2 separate regions of the Homo sapiens genome follow, and region 2 is linked to region 1. The links are contacts of gene promoters, found by promoter capture Hi-C in human tissues and cell types (Jung and others, 2019). All regions are on one chromosome and are shown on one strand. The core of a region is centred on a gene start or on the middle of the fragment in contact, and the rest is flanking DNA. Distances in the headings are between cores, read along the strand shown. Region 1 holds the start of INSIG2 (insulin induced gene 2). Region 2 overlaps C2orf76 (chromosome 2 open reading frame 76).

Evidence for each region. The method cuts DNA at HindIII sites, captures the fragments that hold promoters and counts their contacts. A contact is called where the count stands out against the background at its distance.
Region 2: a fragment that was not itself captured here is called in contact with the fragment with the promoter of INSIG2 in region 1 in 1 of the 25 tissues and cell types used here (spleen).

Annotation. Positions count from the first base shown.
Region 1 is chr2:118,087,164-118,089,863 of GRCh38, forward strand. It overlaps INSIG2 (insulin induced gene 2), which reads left to right and starts at 1,308. Exons shown (of 6, transcript NM_016133.4): 1 at 1,308-1,378. It overlaps LOC107985940 (a long non-coding RNA gene), which reads right to left and starts at 1,268. Exons shown (of 3, transcript XR_001739662.3): 1 at 1,088-1,268. RefSeq lists enhancers at 1,013-1,062, 1,073-1,262. The HindIII fragment of the contact is 12,719 bases long and covers 1-2,700 here.
Region 2 is chr2:119,346,974-119,349,673 of GRCh38, forward strand. All of the region lies in intron 1 of C2orf76 (chromosome 2 open reading frame 76), which reads right to left. Among named protein-coding and RNA genes, the nearest start is that of C2orf76, 19 kb to the right of the region's middle. The HindIII fragment of the contact is 5,326 bases long and covers 1-2,700 here.

The DNA.
Region 1 (2,700 bases), core at 58-2,557:
GACAGTCCTTTGGAAAACTATTATGCAATTACTCTCGGCCCAGATTTCATCTAGAACATTCAAGTCCATTGTAATCTTACCACATCCATACACGTTTTGGGTTAAGCCACCTCCAAATGGAATAGCTCAATAACTAATACACTCAAGAGAGATTATTTTTTCTCTCTTTTTAAAAAGAGTTGCTTAAAAAAAACAAATTCAGGGGGCAGCTCACGCCTGTAATCCCAGCACTTTGGGAGGATGAGGCGGGCGAATCACGAGGTCAGGAGTTTGAGACCAGCCTGGCCAATATGATGAAACTCCATCTCTACTAAAAATACAAAAAGTAGGCAGACATGGTGGCATGTACCTGTAGTCCCAGCTACTGGGGAGGCTGAGGCAGAAGAATCACTTGAACCCGGGAGGCAGAGGTTGCAGTGAGCCGAGATCATGCCAGTGCACTCCAGCCTGGGTGACAGAGAGAGACTCCGTCTCAAATAAATAAATAAATAAAAATAAATAAAAATTCAGAATAGGGAAGCAACTCCTCCTTATGACGAGTACCTTTCGGCACTTATATGGGCTTGCTTTTGCATTGATGGCACCACTTTCATTCAAAAAAAAAAGTTCGCTTGCACAATCTGCAAAGATCTGTTTGGCTTGGTTTCATGTTCTAAAAGTATGGTTTTAGATTAAATGAAAAATAATACTTCTGAAAAATAAGCGGTTATAAGGTTTTTAAGTTTTCTTTATGTTGGTGTAAACTTATAAAGCCCTTCCTATGAAAACTGTCCCCCAAATCACATTACTTGGTCGTCCTCGAGGAACGATTTTGAATGAAAAGCACATAAAGTGCTGTAGCATGGAGACGAGAGACAAATAACTATGCCCTTCTCCCAAAATAAGTTATGACTTACTAGGGGAGGAAAAGGAGCAAAGAGTATAAAGCCCGGTCCTCTGCGGGAAGTACCCGGAGGCCTGCCCCGGAACGCGCTCCTTTCGGCTACGAGATGAGGGGCACGCAGACGGACGCGCCCCTCGGTGAGTGTGCGTGTATCAGTGCATGATTCCTTTACTCCGCCCACAGGGTCTGGGCATCCGTCATTACCTACGGCTGCCTGGTCAGCAAACAACAGCAGATCCGACAACCGCCAGTCACCTCGACGGTCCACGCCCACCGCTAGCCTCCAGTTTCCCGCAGACCGGAAGCCCTTTTGCCCCGGCTCGCAGGTCCACGTCTTATTGACAGCAGGAACCGGAAGCTCTTCTGCCCCGATCGCCTGCGCGCGGCCTCGTTGGCCGCACAGGCGCAGTGGAGCTCGGGCGGAGTTGTGGGAGTGGAGGAGGAAGAGGCGGTAGGGGGTACGGGGGCTGGTCCCAGAAGATGGCGGAGGCGGGGGTGAGTTGGGGGTCTCCCGGCGAAGCGCGGGTGACGTGGTGCTGAGGAAAGCGGCCTGAGGAGGAGGGTGGCCCTTGGGAAGAAGAACTACTTGTGTTTTTGCAGCCTGGGAACCCTGGTGGCAGGTGCGGGGAGCCAGGACCACTGATGGGCCTGCAGGGCAAGGGGCTCCGCTTACCTGAGAGGGGTCCGCAAGGTCCAGAAGGGGACTGCGGGATCGGGGAGGGGGTATAGGAGGGGTCGAGGCTCCCCGGACAGTGGATGAGTGTCTGAGCGGGAAGAAGGCTGGAGGACGGCGAGAAGGGCGACCCAATGGTCTGATGAGGTGGAGGTCAGCGAGCTGTCAAGCATAGAGCTGCCAGGACTTGGGGGCTTGTAGCCTGGGAGAGAAGACTCAGACTTGGGCGGGGATTGGATCCAAAGAAGACAGGTTGTCGTAGTAAGTTTATAATCCACTAAGGAGATAGGGCATTGGGTTGAGGAGTAATACTCTGGCATTTTTGACTGGAATTGGTTACCTATGGAATAGGTGTTTCGGTAAAGCCAAATAATTCTTGCCAGGGCCTAGAAGTGGATTTGATGATAATTACTAGATTTTAGGGTTGCTTAGTGGGGATTGGCAATATGGAGAAGGAAAGCAGTGTGGATTATGGGAGTGGGCGCGGGCAATGGCGCTAACACTTAAGTGATAATGACCCATGTCCAGTTAACGTTGGAAAAAGTTGTTAAAGTATGATATTAGCTAGATGCTCTAGGAAAATATACCATGAAGAACTTGCTGTTTTGTAGGATTGATGAAGAAATGCTTTAAAAAGGAATGGTTAGGCTTGGCAGCTGGGCCACTGAAACTGTTTGGTATCAGTATTGCGGTGGAGCTGAGGACTGCAGGGGAATGCGTGCTCCCGTCCTGGTGCAGAAAAAATAAAAGCAGCCAGACAGTAGCTAGATGGTGTTTTGTAACTTTTGGGTTTGGCCCTGATAGTGAACCACTGAATGAAGATGGATGAAGGGAATGCTACTAATGGGGGCCCCAAAGAAAACAAAAATCAGACGTGTGCTCTTCCTGTTTTCTGTCTTTCATTCTTTCCCTGTACTTTGTGCTCAGTACTGTGTTTTGTCATTGTGTTATGTCGTAGTTCTCAGTTCACATCTGCTGTACAGTGACCAAGCTGTGAATCATGTCCACTCGGGAAAGAGGTTGATTCTGTTTAACTGACAACTGTTGCTTTTGCAGATGGTCACACGGAAAAGGAAAGAATAAAATGCAGTTCAGTAGTTTAAAGAGTTTTCTTTGTTCTCAGAAACTTATCTCGAAACGATGG
Region 2 (2,700 bases), core at 74-2,573, 1.3 Mb after region 1:
CTACAATTATCCCAAAATAAAAAAATTCCAAAAATTATCATTCTGAAAACTCTAATGAAATGAGTGTAGGTGATGATCATAAAGCGGTGTTAAAACCATCAGGTAAGACTGACGGGGAACTTCAGCATGGGTACATCTGGGGCTGACAACACCTGAACTTCATAATCAACATTAGTGAATGAATCGAGCCTCCAGATCTCATTCCCAGTTTATCAGCTATGACAGGGTATGGAAGAACATGTTAAATGACACCACAAGGAGGCCATCAGCCAAGTTCAGATGGTGGAAAATTGTACTGGAAAAATGACTCGATTTCTTCAACAAATGGCATGAGAAATAAAGAAAAGAGAGGAAGGCTATATATTAAAAGAGACTTAAAAGAGCTAATCTCAACGGATGCAACATTTAGTCTTTGTATGGATCCTAATTTGTATAATATTAGATGATATTAGGAATTAATGTTAATTCTGTTTATATGATATTATGGTTGTGTTTTTAAGTCCTTATCTTAAAAGACTGAGGAATATACAGGTGAAATGATGACCTGTATTTGCTTTCAAATACCCTAGCAGAGGAAAAACAATTATAGAAGCGTAGATTAAAAAAAGAATAGTAGAGACCAAGCATGGTGGCCCACGCCTGTAATCCCAGCACTTAGGAGGCCGAGGCAGGAGGATCACTTAAGCGCAGGAGTTCAAGACCAGCCTGGGCAACATATCGAGACCTCATCTCTCCAAAAATAATTTTTTAATTAGCTGAGTGCAATGACCTCAGCTAATTAACCTTTTTATCTTGAAATAATTGTAGATTCACATGTAGATTTGGGAAATAATACAGCGCTCCCATTTCCCTTCATCCACTTTCCCCCACTTGGCCACATCTTGCTTGAGTATAGTCGATTTTACAGCCAGGAAATTGACATTGATACAAGCAATGGACATCTATAATCCTAGCTACTTGGGAGGCTGAGGCAGAAAGATCACTTGAGCCAGAAGTTTGAGGCTGCAGTGAGCTATGTACTGTGCTCCACACCACTACTCTCCAGCCTGGGAAACAGGACAAGGCTCTGTCTCAAAAAAAAAAAAAAAAAAAAAAAATACTAGACCATTGTTAACTGTTGAAGTTGGTTATGTATGAAATCTCATATACTATTCCATTTGTAAATGCTTGACATTTTTCATAATAAAAACATTTTGCAAGAAGACTATAAGTGCGCAAAGGTGTACATTCAAAGATTTTCTTTCACTGAAATGTTTCTAACAGTTAACAAAATTAGAATCCACTTAAATGTCCAACAGTAAAGAAATGGTTAAGTAAATTATGCCACACAGTAAAACAAAATACCCTGCAGCCATTAAAGGGTGATATGGATGTATGGATACCAACTTTGAAAGATGGCCATGACATACCAGTGAGTAAAAAAACAACTTAGGCTGGGCACAGTGGCTCACGCCTGTAATCCCAGCACTTTGGGAGGTCAAGGCGGGTGGATCACCTGAGGTTAGGAGTTAGAGACCAGCCTGACCAACATGGTGAAACCCTGTCTCTACTAAAAGTACAAAATTAGCCAGGCGTGGTGGTGCGCGCCTGTAATCCCAGCTACTCGGGAGGCTGAGGAAGGAGATTCGCTTGAACCGGGGAGGCAGAGGTTGCAGTAAGCCAAGATTGTGCCACTGTACTCCAGCCTGGAAGACAAGAGTGGAACTCTGTCTTAAAAAAAAAAAGAAAAGAAGTTAAAGGGCTCGGTGCCGTGGCTCACACTTGTAATGCCAGCACTTTGGAAGCCCAAGGTGGGCAGGTTGTTTGAGTCCAGGAGTTCAACAGACCAGCCTGGGCAACATGGTGAAACCCCATCTCTACTAAAAATACAAAAGTTAGCCCGGCATGGTGGCGTAAGCCTGTAGTTGCGGGGCTGAGGTGGGAGGATCGCTTCAGCCTGGGAGGCAGAGGTTGCCAAGAGCCAAGATTGCACCACTGCACTCCAGCCTGGGAGACAAAGCCAGACCCTGGTCTCAAAAAAACAAAACAAAACAAAAATTAGAAAATTGCCTGTGTACAGTATCACTGCATGTTTGTAATGTAGGTGTGTTACATGTGAACATAAGCATGGAGAGATGTCCAGAAAAGCCTTTACCAAAACATTAACAGTGGCTGTCTCTGAGGGGCAGAAATCCAAGAGACTGTTACTTGTTTTATATACTTTTTAATATTGTTTGATGTTTTACCAATCATGTGTTTTTAAATTAAGCTATTTCCAGTATACTTGTATTTTCACTTTTCTGATATATGTGTATGCATCAACAATAAGTTATTTTTAAAACTCAGCTATTTCCATTTGTTTTTAAGAAGGAAGAGACAACAGAACAAAGCAAACAATACCAAACTTACAGAGTACTGGAAAGGAGGGAAAGGCTAGGAACTTAGTTATACTCCTGCTATGTACCAAGGAACACCAAATAAATCCAAACAGCATTCGGAGGCACCAGAAGCAGGTCACACGCCCAGAGGAGTCTGAACTTGTCCCGCTGCCTCTTCAGTGGTATACGTCAACATCAAAATCTGCTTTTAACATATCCCTCCAGCTACAATGACAGCTCACAGTTCCCCACACCCACCACGCTGTTGCCAAGCCTCTACCACACCTCTCCAGCCCCAGCTTCTCTCCAAAATCCCTCCGCCCCTCACCCTCTTTGCTTTCCC